5 separate regions of the Homo sapiens genome follow, and all the other regions are linked to region 2. The links are contacts of gene promoters, found by promoter capture Hi-C in blood cells and fetal thymus (Javierre and others, 2016). All regions are on one chromosome and are shown on one strand. The core of a region is centred on a gene start or on the middle of the fragment in contact, and the rest is flanking DNA. Distances in the headings are between cores, read along the strand shown.

Region 1 (2,700 bases), core at 98-2,597, 550 kb before region 2:
TATGTTTAGCAATGTATGTTTTAGTATTTGATCTTATTTGAAAATGACCCAGATGCTTAATGAGTATTTATTTCTTAATTTAATATAATTTTGAGATTTAAAGTTACCAAAAAGATTTTTTGAAACTATGAAGAGTTTATAAACATTTGTGCCATTTACGTTTACCTAATTTATTTATTTTTCACAATTATACTTAGATTATTTATGAAACCTGAGATATTAGACAAGGCTAGTCATTATCGTAAGCTATTATTTTGTTAACCATTTTTATAGCCTGTGAATAAATCAGGCGTTTATCACCCAAGTAAGGACCTTAAAGTTAAATATTTGAGCATTTTGTGGATAACTTCAAAACTATAGCTGTTTTCATTAAATCAATAATATTAAATTAGTTTTAATTACCAAAGACTTACATAAACAAAGATCATTCTCTTTTTAGGCTGGGTTTATCGTTTTATGACCTTAGTGTTAAACCTTGCCTGACATGTTAAAGCATCTAGCAAAGACAAATATAAAATGATCTGATCACTAAACCCAGGGAAAAACATATGTTGGCAATTCTGAAGACATTTCTATTTTTATTTTACCAACAATTTTAAAATTATTTTATTTACCAAAGATTTATCTAAGTTTTATGAACTTAAAACCGAGTTAGTATATTTTTGATGAAATACTTGATTTAAGTACTTAAGGTTTCAAGTCAATTAATTAATTAAGGCTTTGTAATATATTTTGGTAGAAAAATATACAAACAAAATGAAAACAGACAGACAACACAAATACACAAAAGCAGATTCTCTACCAGTAAAACACAGCAATATAAATTCACTGATTTATGCAAGGACAGTTGGATCCAAATGATATTTCTGATAAACTGGAACCTGTTTTTCTGGCTACATTTTACTTTACTCCGTAGGTAATCTCACGAAGGCTGTGTACCAAAGCTTCAAGTAAAGAGGTTTTCATTGCAGTTTGCTTTTTAAAAACCTCTTTTTATCATTTTTTTTAGCTTAAATGAGTTCAGGGTTTAAATATTTAAATGTTTATATTTCAGTTATGACTGGCTAAATTGTACAAGGGAAAAATATCCAGGTGGCCTTGAATTTTAGCAACACATTTATCTTTTTGTTTATAGGTCTGGTTTGCTTGATTAGTTGATGTGGGCAGGGAACATTTTAGAGAAAGATGTTTATAGTTTCGGGGTTTTTTCCTTGGCTTTTGCTGGTGTATGTGTGGCAGACAAAGCAAAATTTTTACGCTGGATAGGGAAACCTTATATTATTGTTCTGATCTCAAGACTTTGACCTGTTTGATCTGAGAACATAACTTTTATAAACATGCTGTCTTGTTGTTTCTCTTTTAGATTATCAATCTTTTAATTAACTGTTCCATCACACTAAGTGATTATAGCTCAGTAAACCTAAATTTGCATTTCCAAAAGGGATGGCTCTTAGGTGTGCAAGGTTAGGTTGTTGGTTATCATGGAGCTGTTGTAATTTCAAAGCACTCTCTCGCTTTTAAAGTCTTGGCTGAAGTGCCCTAAGAAAAACCTTTTAGTGTTTTTGAAATTAACAACAGTAGATTATCTTAATAACAGTGAAAAAGAGAGCAGATTTAAAGCAATGGGAGAGGAGGTTAAAAAAAGGGAAATAAAGAGAGATAGATCAATTAAGAGCTTTTACGTGCTGGCATTTTATTTTAACCTTATAGTTGCAGTTTTAAAATTTGGTACCAAGGAAAACAAGCTTGGGGAGTTCTGATGATTCCTATGAGGGCCACTGATTTAAAAATGTGCATGAGGAAAAGCCATGTAGCTGGATGGAGTCCCAGAAAACTGGCATGCCTTAATATTTGAGAATCCCATTTCATTTCTTATTCTCTTGAGAGCAGAGTAAATCCTATAAATCCTGTCAGGGAATGTCAAGAGTTTAGACCAGTGTTTTAGATGATGGCAACCTCCCCAGTGGCTTTTAATTGGTCATCTCACATCCACCATTTAGAATGTTTATTTTTGTTCTCAGAAAACGCTCAGAAACAAGCATGGGGGAAAATAATCCAAATTATATATAGACATGCATAGCCAAACTAAAATAAACCAAAATCAAAGTGTTTACAAAAATCTTAAGCCAGGCACGCAGATCAAGCAAAATATTAAACCAGGTATGCAGAAGGAATCAATAGTGAATGCACCAGTAAAGGCATGCCTCACTAACAGAACATAAGTTCCATAGAAACCAGAAAAGTATACCCATCAGAAAGACAAGATCACTTTGTACTAGAAGGGACTTGTCAGAAAAAAACAAAAAAAATCTTATTTTTCCCAGGAGGAATGCAAGGTCTTTTATTTGAGTTGGGCTTGCCCAAATCAGGTCTCAAATAAAGTCAAAGAGCTTTTACCAAAAAAATGGAGTCTTGGCCTAAGAGAATGCTCACCAGGGATGAAAAGGTGAGCTGTGGAAGAAAAGAGCTCAAAGGACTCAGATGTGCTGACTGCACACCACTTCCAAGAATCACACACTTTCTCCAAAGATTATCGGGCTTCAAATCCCACTTCTGACACCAGTTACGTTATCCTAAATAATAGAGAGGGAGAATCTCTTAAAGAAAATTATATTTCTTTGAGAATAAACATTGCAATGGGAATACATGTGTAATACTAAACTATATTCATATTTAGGGAGGTTAAAAAAAAGCCAAAGA
Region 2 (2,700 bases), core at 185-2,684:
CCTGGGTTGTCTGCTTCTGGGTCTTTCCCAGTTCCAATCGAGCATTAGATGGGGCTGCAGTCAGCTCAAGGCTCAACTGGAGAAGGATCCACTTCCAAGCTCACACACTTGGTTTTTGGCTGGATTCCTGGCTGTTGGATGGAGCATCAGACCCTTACTGGCTTTTGAGACCACTCTTGATTCCTTGACACATGGGCTTCTCCACCATGGCAGCTTGCTTCATCAAAGCAGGCAAGCAAGAAAGTAATAGAGTCCAACAAGATGGAAGCCTCATCATGGTAGTGGAAACTCAGCACCTTTGCCTTACTTTATTTACAAGGAGCATGTCAGCAGCCTCAGTCTACACTCAAGGGATGGAGAATAGACATGAAGTTCCAGAGACAGAGAACTTTGAAATTAGATGGGCCCTCCTCCTGACAGTTCCTGCTGCCTAGAACATGTTCTACAGAAGATCCTGCCATGTGGCAGAACCTCAGGGGGAAAGGGAACCCCAGGAAAGGATGAGATTAACTTTTCCGCCAGCCGGACCAACTGGTGCCTCAGAAGAGAACTTGATTTAAGAAAACAAATAAAGAATACACCTTGCACATCTGTGCTGAGGACTCGATTATTTCTCATTTCTTTTATTTCATTTAATTCTTCAAGCCATCATATGACATATATATTTTTATGTTTATAATTGAGAAAACTGCAACTCAGAGGGGTAAGTCACAAATCTGAGGTCACACAGCTAGGATGGTAGACAGGTTGAATTTCTGTCTTGTGACCCCAGAATCCGCACTCTTTCCACTATGCAGTGGTACCTCAATGTTGCTGGAATATATATTTGAATGTACATTTCTTTTATCACTTACAGTAGTACAGATGTGTATGAACCCATAAACACCATCAAGTCTTTGAGCTCTACTATAATGTAAATGTAAAATGCCATCTATAGAGTTTTTTGTGAAGTCCAACCTTCATTAGATAAACCTATTGCCTCTATAGAAATTTTCATAAGATCAAGCTCTTGCTATTTAATAGTATTCTGAATTTAATAGCATCAGTGCATTATCCTCAATAAATTTAAGTGATTTGGACAAAGATCACTACTCTGCACTACTTATAACTGAATGTGGCCATATGATGAGCAAGAAATGTCAGTTCGCTGAGTCTTTCTCACGTTCTCGCAGCCAAAGGTGACAAGTTAGCTCAGAAAACCACCCCTCCAGTGACCAGGGTGTAACCAGCTGGCCTGACACATGGGCTGCACATTCCCTGCTGCTGGCCCAGGAAACTCTCTGAAATCTTCAGCACACTCCTCAGTGTGAATGCCACTGATGTGAGCCCAACAGGAAGTGTGACCTCATTCTGCTTCTTTGCCTCTGGTTACGCAGGCTGTTTTCAAAAGAAAACAAGAGAAGTTGTAAGACTGACTTTCCCAAGAACTATACACTCATTTATACCAGGAAACAGACAAGAGAACAAGAGGCTGCCGAAGACAAAACTTCTCTGCAAGCACCTGTGCACAGCAATGTGCGTGGGCATCTGTGAGAAGAAGGTAGGGTGGGATTCCCTTTATTAAGAGACTTCTGCACCTGTTGACATTCAGACATTTTTCAGCCGAGGAACTGCTCAGTCCTCAATTTTTCCACTGTCAACCACAGGAAGCTTCGTATTTCAGTAATAATTTTGTCCTTTGTCAATTGGAAGAAGAGGCTGGGAACTCCCTTTGGAAGGAACACGTATGCACACATTATTTTTCAGAATAGATGTGTCGCTTTGATGGAACTGGCAGATTCTGTTTCTTGAAAAGTTTTAGATCTGTAACTGAAGGGCTTTTTTTTTTCCTACTGTTACTAATTTTCTATTGAATGTCAGTGTACTGCCTGTAGATTCTTCTAAGCACTTGTGAGATAGAGCAATAAGACCTTCTTTTGCTGCAGGATTTATAGGCTTAAAATTAAGCTTAATACTTGGGGAACACTAAAATAAGGTAATTTGGGCTGGGCATACCCGTACAATATTGATCAAAAATGAAAAGAACAAGTAACATACTAATATATTACATTACACTGGGATTATTTTATATCCCAAACAAATGAAATTTGTAAATGTGTGCTTTGATTTAGAAATCTTCCAAGGAAGGCCAGAAAGTTCTCCTGACATCTTTACAGGTCTCTATAAACCAGGTTTATATTTTCCTAATAGGGTTTATATATAATTTATTGAAATATTCAACTTGAAGCTGTAGAATTAGCCTGGTTTGATTGATTGAATTACAGCTACAAAAACAATCCATTACTAGTTCTCATGTTACAAAATGTGGCCATAAGTGGTGAATCAGAAAATAATTTACTCCTACCTTATAAAGCGATTAGGATAGTGATACTATATACAAAGTTTCATAGTCAACAGAAGTTGGTTCTATTTGATGAACAGTAAATGATCAAAGTTTGCATAATTTACATACTTTGATATGTTTTTAATTAGTAATTGAGAAATTAAATCATGTCTTCATGGGAACTAAGTTCTAAAATCTTCCCAATGGTATGCTATCTTTAGTGCAACATTACTTATGCTGTTTAGGAATGTCCAGGCTGATAAAAACTATTAAAATCACTCTCTGTGACTACCTGTCAATGGTTCAAGTTGTTGGGAAAAAGACAGACACCAATCTCCAAGCACTGTTTGAAACTTGATAATGAAGTTGACTTGTGT
Region 3 (2,700 bases), core at 126-2,625, 800 kb before region 2:
GGGAACATTCAAAATCCTCTCTTCTAGCTATTTGAAAATATGAAAATATATTATAAATCCTTGTTTACTATAGCCACCCTGCAGTGCCACAGAACACTAGAACCTATTCCTCCTATCTGTAATTTTGTTTCCTTTAACTGCTCCACATCCGTCCCTGCATGGCTGCTTGCAAGAACTCATCTTTGTGGCTTGTTGTTATAAATTGAATTCGAAGAGCCCCAAGGTGCCTGGGGATTGAGGGAGGCGGTGAGCCACTTTGAGCCTGCCGGGGGGTTTGGAGAAAGGACTGAGCAGGAAGGCTGAGTGCAAAGTTTGCAATCAGGCGTGTAAACTTAGCCAGCTCCCTAGCTAGATGGGAGCCTCTTGGAGGCAACCTGCTTCACGTAAAAGGAATCGTCAGCGTCGCTGTTGCAACCTTGGAAAATTCCCTTTTAATAACATCTTCACAATGGAGAGAAAGGTTTGTTGTTCTTCTTCTTACTTGAAAACACTGTTAATCCTACCACCTGGTGGAGAGTTTGATGAATAAAGACCGTTGCTCAGGAAACATGTTAGCTGCCACGAATAGGAATGTCTTTGTGAGGTGTATTACTGGTTGTTTCTAAAACATAATCTTATGTTTTAAAATTCAGTCTTTTGGCAAAAAAAGGAAATTAAAATGAAAGGGAGAGATTAGGCAGACAGTACCATCGTTCTTTCTTTCACCACCTGATAGAAGCTTCAAATGGAAAACACACCTTTCAGAATGGGTTGAAGAACTGGTTCCAACCTAAGGTCTGCTGCTATTTTCTGTTTCTCCCTGCGACCTGGAACAAACTGAGCTCAGCAAACATGATCCTTGGACCACAGTAAGTCCTCATTTAATGACATCGATAGGTCCTTGGAAATTGTGAGTTTAAGGGAAACGACATAAAAAACTGATTTCACCATAGGGTAACTGATATAAACAAGAGTTAAGTATCTCTGATGTATTTCTGTTCATAAAAATATCACCAAACTTCTAAATGAAGGCCCCAAACAGCATCGCAGGTGGCCACAGCCTGTCCCAGTGGCTTAGGACGTGCACACATGCACACACACACACACACACACACACAAAACCACACTCTATCGCCCTGGGACCACATAAACACAGCAGTTCACCTGATATGCACAGCTTTTTGGGGTGTGGGAAACTGGAGTGCCTGGAGAAGACCCACGAGGACATGAGGAAAACTTGCAAACTCCACACACACAGTGGTCCCGGCCGGGAATCCGTATTCTTCTCATCAATGTTATAATGAAATGCTGTTGAATGAAACAGCATTATTGGAAGACCTGCGGCATAGGATTTTATACATTAAACTGACATTTATGCAATGTCAGAAATCCAAACAAGGAGAAAAAAATATACTGGCTGTGGAGACAGTTTTGAATATCAGAATACTTCTGCATTGTCAGGAACCTGCCCCGGATGGAGTAAAGGAGGTTTTCTCTTTTTCTCTGAGCCATGGTGTCATAAACTTTAGTCACCATTACTTGCGGGAGGACGGGGGCATGGTATGTTGGTTGAATAATTAGTTACAGAGGTTGCACACTTAAATAGTGTCAAAGAATTATAAAATCTTAGCATTTGCAAAGAGCCTTTGCAGTAACCTTGTTCAACCTTCTTCTATCTACTGAGTCTTTCATTGATTCCTTGATTTACTCATAAAAGTATTAGCTCTGCCACTGCCTAACTGCGTGTCCTTCAGCAAGTTGCTGAACCTCTCTGTACTTCCCTTTCCTCATCCATAAAATCTGGATAACAATGGTACCTACCTCCCAGGAGGTAATAAATAAGCATTCAATGAGTTAACACTTGGACCGTGCTCAGAAGAGTCCTTGTTAAAGATATGCTGTGGCAACACATCATCATCAATTACATTCTTGTTCCGCCTCCTTGAGCTGCATTTTTCACTACCTGTGGTAGGGAGCTCTGTGCCCCACACAGTGGTGTTTTGACCTCTGGGCAGCTTTGCGGTTTAGAAGGCTCTTTCTCATTCAAAGCTTCCAACCAGAGAGCGCTTCCTGGAGCAGATGGCAGAATGGTGCTCTTAGGAGCTATCTGAATTTAAGGATGGGAAAGTTGTCTGGGCTGTGAAGCTAGGGTATCATCACTGGACATCAGAGGCACAAGAGACATACCTAAGATTTTAGCCATGAGGGGGACCTCAAGACACTGGCCTCTTTTTTTTTTTTTTTTTTTTGAGACGGAGTCTCACTCTGTTGCCCAGGCTGGAGTGCAGTGGCATGATCTCAGCTCACTGCAACCTCCGCCTCCCAGATTCAAGCAATTCTCCTGCCTCAGCCTCCTGAGCTCACTGCAACCTCCACCTTCTGGATTCAAGCAATTCTTCCGCCTCAGCCTCCTAAGTAGCTGGGATTACAGGCACGCGCCACCACGCCTGGCTAATTTTTGTATTTTTAGTAGAGACAGGGTTTCACCATGTTGGTCAGGCTAGTCTCAAACTCTTGACCTCATGATCTGCCTGCCTTGGCCTCCCAAAGTGCTGGGATTACAGGTGTGAGTCAGACCACGGCCTCTTTATTTTACAGCCGAGAGGACAGCACAGACAGGGCCTGGCTGGTGCGACAGCTCAACCCATCATCAGGCAGAACCTGGATAGGAGGCCAGCCCGTGGGGTGATACTGCCAAGGCCTGCATTACCACTCAGTTAT
Region 4 (2,700 bases), core at 66-2,565, 780 kb before region 2:
TTTATAGAGATGGTGTTTTGCTGTGCCACTCAGGCTGGTCTGGAACTACTGGGCTCAAGCAATTCCCCAGCCTCAGCCTCCTAAAGCGTTGGGATTTCAGGTATGAGCCACCATAACTGGCCGATGATAATAATTTAATGGGAGAAAAAGATCAATTAATAAATCGGTGGTATGTTTAGGTGCAGTTCTGGTTCTTTGGGTCCTGAAGCTTATACAATTTGGGAGTTTTCTTTAAGGAAAAATAATGCAAAGTTATGACTTTGAAATAAAATGCAAGCCCTAGATAAGTGGGGTGCAGCCCAGGGGCTGGAGCGTCAGCTTCCTGGACGTGCTCTGGTTCTTTGCCCGCTTTGTGAGCTGCAGTGTCAGCGAGAGTGCCTTCTCTTACCTGCTGCCTGCCGGGTGAGCTGGCCACAAGGGGAGTTGGCGGTGGGAATCCTGGTGCTCCATGGTACAGTGAATTTACTTGCCTTCTGGATCCTCTGAGTCCTTGTGCTTGGGCTCAGGGAACAGGGCGAAAGAACTTCGTTCTTCTTGGTTCTGCTGGGATTTTCGAAGGCACTTTCCTTGAAGTTCTGCGGGCTGACCTGTGATCCCACATCAGGGACTGCATTCTCAGGAATCAGCTGAGCTCAGGAGTCCTGGGGCTGGGGGAGTGTTTGTGAGCACTCTCGCAGGGCTGGCTGTGGCCCTTACGCCTTTGTAACAACCCCACACACATAGATTTCACCCCACAGCCTCCCTGGCAGCCAGCTGCTGTCATTTCCCTTTTTTACGGATGATGAAACCCAGGCACAGACTGGTTAAGTAACTTAACAGTCACACAGCTAATAAGTTGGGGGGCTGCGCTGTGAAGGCTTACAGCGTCTCCAGAGCCCAGTCCCCTTGCTGCCTCCCCATCATCCTCACTGCCTACTGCTTTTAAGCAATATGCTGGAAATACCTGCAATGTCAAGATTAGGAGATGAGCTACATCCAGTACAGCCGCAGAATGGAATAATATGCATTTGAGCCACACAAGGAGTTTTTAACCAGCATGGTGGAATGCTCTAATTTTTGGTGTGAAGGTGGGATGTCTAATTACATATGCACAGAGAAAGGAATGCCAAGTGCTAACAGTGCTTGGATTCCCTCAGCCTTTTGCATCCTCTCCTGGGCAGCTGTAACAGACTCACTCACACATGCATTCAATAGGTTTTATTTATTTATTTATTTATTTTTTGAGATGGAGTCTCGCTCTGTCGCCCAGGCTGGAGAGCAATGGTGCAATCTCAGCTCACTGCAACCTCCGCCTTCTGGGTTCAAGTGATTCTCCTGCCTCAGCCTCCCAAGTAGTTGGGATTACAGGCTCCCACCACCACACCTGGCTAATTTTTATATTTGTAGTAGAGATGGGGTTTCGCCATGTTGGCCAGGCCGATCTCGAACTCCTGACCTCAGGTGATCCCCCCACCTTGGCCTCCCAAAGTGATGGGATTACAGACATGAGCCACCATGCCCGGCCATTCAGTAGGTTTTAATTCAATGCCTTTGACATGCTGGGTACTTCGGATACAGCAGCAAAAAACAAAAACATGGTTTCTGCTGTCATGGAACTTAGTCTGGCCTGCTGTTTGCTCCTTCTGCCTATACTTTCTTCCTCCAGCTTTCACTAGAGAGATCTTTCGGAAGCCCTCCATGGTTCCGCAGTGCCCTCAAATGCAGCCCCTCCCTGCCCCTATTGTCTCATGTGTAAAATGGAGCAGAAGACGCACAGACCTTCCAGACCTCAGAGTGTAGCTCTTCTCAGTTGTTGGCTAGAGGCTTTGCAGTCACAACTCTCATCATTACCATCTTCTAGAAAGGTCAGGCACCGGACAGCTGAAACCATGGCAGCCGGCAACAGGAAGTGCCCTCCCTGGGTGCTCAAAGATCCAAGACAGCCGGGCCCTGTGTTTGTAGGAACAAGATTCCAGATGCCTCTGCTGCTTGCCAGCCTCGTGACCTTCATTCATGCAGGGCCTTGTTTTCTTGATTCAGTGGGGCCAATCCCGGCCCCCAGGGGAGATGGATGCTGCAGGGATGTGCAAGCTGTAGAGGGTTCCAGAGAATGGGCCTGGCGTTCTGCAAGCCTGGCACCCCTCCTGGATGCTTTTCTCCAGCCCTTGGAGCTTAGGCAGTGTAGTGTTAGGATGATTATTGGATTTCCTCCACAGTTCCTGGCTCATTCTTTTGTAGCCCTTGTTACAGCCTTTTGTGATAATATTGGGTGTGGCAGGCCTCAGGACACAGGATGTCTCCAACTTTCTCCTGCCTTCCTTCCCCTGCCCTAACACAGGACTCTAATCTTTCCCTGACTTTCTGACTGTGGGTCTTGAGATCCTCCCCAGAGAGGGTCCTACCCTGTACCCTGGGAGAAGGAATGCTGATGTCAGGAAGCTTCCATAAAACCCCAGAAGACTGGGTTGGAAGAGCTTCCAGATAGCTGAGCACTGGAGGTTCCTGGAGGGTAGCATGCCCCTTCCCCCATACCTCCCCCCACGCATCTCTCTATCTGTATCCTTTGCACCAGTAAATATGTTTTCCTGAGTTCTGTGAGCCCTTCCAGCAAATTAATTGAGCCCAGAAAGGGGGTCATGGGAACCCAATTTGAAGCCAGTTGGTCAGAAGTTGCAGAGACCCGGACTTGAGGCTTGTGTTTGGGGTAGGAGTTGGGGGCAG
Region 5 (2,700 bases), core at 148-2,647, 820 kb before region 2:
AATTGGTTAAACAAGTTGAGATGAGGTCATATAGAAAGGCACGGGACAGTTTCTCTCTGAGTCTCCAGCAGGAACTAACTTTTGCAACACCTTCATTGCAGCCTCCTGAACTGTGAGAAAATAAATTTCTGCTGTTTCTGGCCACACAGTTTGTAGTAGTTGGTTATGGCTATCCTAGGAAATGCATATATCTGGGCCAGCTGGACCTTATGGCAAGGAAGCTTAGGAACCATGATCCTTATGGATCTCGCAGCCCAGGACAGTGGGAGGCTCTGCAGAAGCAGTGAGGATTGCCAGGAGTCAGAGTTTCCTCACACCAGGCCCTGCATTAGCCCTCTGGACTTCTGTATATCTTGGGGGCTTCACCAGCCCAGCAAGATAGAGATCTATGTTGATTTTAAGAACATAACATATAAGTTAACCAGAGCTTCTGGGCCAAGCTATGCCTGCTAGTAGAGGGTTTGTAAAGAGGAGTATTAGAAGGAAACAAGTGAGAAACACACGTTGGGACCACACCGAGGGTCTTAACTGCTAGACTCAGAAATCTGGACTTACACCCCTAGGCAATGGGAAGCCACAAATGTTTTAAAGGGTTAGAGCTTGGAAATGACTTGAGGGAAGGAGAGGGGCTTCGGGACAATCAATCTAACTGTCGTTATCAAGGGTTTTGTTGCAAGTAACAGAACTATGACCTAAAGTGGAGTAAGCAAAAGAATTTTATTGACTCATGAAACAGAAAGTCCAGAACAGACTTCATGCATTAGTGTGATTACGACTCTGAACCTAATGTCTTTATTTGGCTTTCTTCATGGGCACAAAGATGCCTCCCAGAGCAACTGTGTTAAAAATGCTCTTTTGTTCATGTCCAGTTAGAAATAAGCTATATTCAGGGCTTACTCTTAGAAACTTTTTTCCTAGAAGACTCAATATATTTATCTCTTTATCTTGGTGGTCCAAGTAGGGATTAAAGCTATTCATTCATGAGCTGATTTTTGACAAAGAGATTAGGGTGGGCAGGATGGACTGAGACTAACCAGATGGCTTAGCATAGATTTCGGGTCTAAGACCATCAGGAGTGGCTTAATGACAGAGACACATTCCAAGAAAAGCGTCATTAGGCAATTTAATGGCTATGCAAACCTCACAGAGTTCACTGTAATACAGCCTCAGGCAGGACCTTCAGGATGTGTTCCAGGGAAAGGCACTGTTACCTTAGGGGATGGCAACTCCATGCAGGTTATTGCCCTTAAAGACCTTCCTGTGTTTCAAGATATGCAGTGAAAGACAGTGATATTGATGACTGACGCTGTGTGGGCCCAAGCTGATGTGAGTGTTTGTGTCTTAATTTTACCAAAAAAGTTGGAAAAGTAAATGAATAAATAATTTGTAAATAGAAAAAACTTGTGAAATAGGGATATAAAGAAAATATTTTTAGGCTGGGTGCAGTGGTTCATGCCTGTAATCCTAGCACTTTGGGAGGCTGAGGTGGGTGGATCACCTGAGGTCAAGAGTTCAAGGCCAGCCTGGCCAACATGGCGAAACCTCGACTTTACTAAAAATACAAAAATTAGCCTGGCCTGGTGGTGTGCACCTATAATGCCAGCTACTCGGGAGGCTGAGGCAGGAGAATCGCTTGAACCCGGGGAGCGGAGGTTGCAGTGAGCCAAGATGATGCCACTGCCATCCAGCCTGGGCAAAAGAGTGAAACTCCAATACCAAAAAAAAAAAAAAAAGAAAAGAAAATGAAAATATTTTTAGTGCAGCTGTTCAATGTGTTTGTATTTTAAGCTAAGTTTTATTACAAAAAAGTCAAAAAAGTTTAAAAAGTGTATAAAGTAAGAAAAGTAACAACAAGCTAGGGTTAATTTATTATTGAAGAAAAACACATTTTTATAAATTCAGTGTAGCCCAAGTGTAGTGTTCATAAAGTCTACAATAGTATACGGTAATGTCCTAGGCTTTCACATTCACTCACCACTCACTCACTGACTCAACCTAGAGCAACTTCCAGTAACGCATGCTCCACTTATGGTAAGTGGCCTATACAGGCATACCGTTTTTATCTTTTATACTGTTTTTCTATAGTACCTTTTCTATGTCTAGATATGTTTAGATACATACATACATACCTACCATGGAGTGACGATTGCCTACAGTATTCAGTACAATAACATGCTGTACAGGTTTGCAGCCTAAGAGGAATAGGCTAAACCATATAGCCCAGGTGTGCAGTAGGTTTTACCATCTATATTCGCATAAGTACACTATGATGCTGGCACAGGGATGAAATTGCCTAACAACACATTCCTCAGAACGTATCCCCATCACTAATAGACTCATAACTATGTCCATGGTGGTTTGCTTCATTTGTTTCTTTTTTCTTTTTCTTTTTTTTTTTTTTTTTTTTTTTTTTGTGCTTTGAAGCTCCAGCTCAAAGGGTTTTTTGAATCCTGGTTTTGCTTGTAGGCAGATAATGCACCATGAACTTTCCTCTCTATTAGTGAAAACCTTTCAGTTTTGGGGTCCATGTTTTCAGACTTCTTAAGGAGCTTGTTGGAGACTGAAGAAGCTTCTGCTAAACCCATCACTGTGAGTATTCTTGGGAGTTCTTTTTTCCCTTCTCCTGCACTTTCTTTTTCTTTACCTCTTCTTCAGCTATGCACTCCTATTCCAGTTCCAACAGCAACCCATTAGTCAATT

The links. Contacts are between HindIII fragments. The CHiCAGO score rates a contact against its expected background, and 5 or more counts as called.
Region 1: a fragment that was not itself captured here is called in contact with the fragment with the promoter of TMEM71 in region 2 in 7 of 17 cell types (activated CD4 T cells, total CD4 T cells, naive CD4 T cells and 4 more); the score reaches 7.4 in activated CD4 T cells.
Region 3: a contact is called between a fragment that was not itself captured here and the fragment with the promoter of TMEM71 in region 2, in 2 of 17 cell types (activated CD4 T cells and total CD8 T cells). The highest score is 8.4, in activated CD4 T cells.
Region 4: a contact is called between a fragment that was not itself captured here and the fragment with the promoter of TMEM71 in region 2, in 1 of 17 cell types (activated CD4 T cells). The highest score is 6.0, in activated CD4 T cells.
Region 5: a fragment that was not itself captured here is called in contact with the fragment with the promoter of TMEM71 in region 2 in 1 of 17 cell types (naive CD4 T cells); the score reaches 5.3 in naive CD4 T cells.

Annotation. Positions count from the first base shown.
Region 1 is chr8:133,306,685-133,309,384 of GRCh38, reverse strand. No RefSeq gene overlaps it. Among named protein-coding and RNA genes, the nearest start is that of NDRG1, 11 kb to the right of the region's middle. The HindIII fragment of the contact is 801 bases long and covers 947-1,747 here.
Region 2 is chr8:132,759,316-132,762,015 of GRCh38, reverse strand. TMEM71 (transmembrane protein 71) reads left to right here and starts at 1,434. Exons shown (of 10, transcript NM_001382403.1): 1 at 1,434-1,540. The HindIII fragment of the contact is 4,740 bases long and covers 1-1,652 here.
Region 3 is chr8:133,557,433-133,560,132 of GRCh38, reverse strand. The region is part of intron 1 of ST3GAL1 (ST3 beta-galactoside alpha-2,3-sialyltransferase 1); the gene reads left to right. Among named protein-coding and RNA genes, the nearest start is that of ST3GAL1-DT, 12 kb to the left of the region's middle. The HindIII fragment of the contact is 1,310 bases long and covers 721-2,030 here.
Region 4 is chr8:133,537,037-133,539,736 of GRCh38, reverse strand. The region is part of intron 2 of ST3GAL1 (ST3 beta-galactoside alpha-2,3-sialyltransferase 1); the gene reads left to right. Among named protein-coding and RNA genes, the nearest start is that of ST3GAL1-DT, 32 kb to the left of the region's middle. The HindIII fragment of the contact is 2,210 bases long and covers 211-2,420 here.
Region 5 is chr8:133,578,129-133,580,828 of GRCh38, reverse strand. No RefSeq gene overlaps it. Among named protein-coding and RNA genes, the nearest start is that of ST3GAL1, 7.6 kb to the right of the region's middle. The HindIII fragment of the contact is 2,348 bases long and covers 224-2,571 here.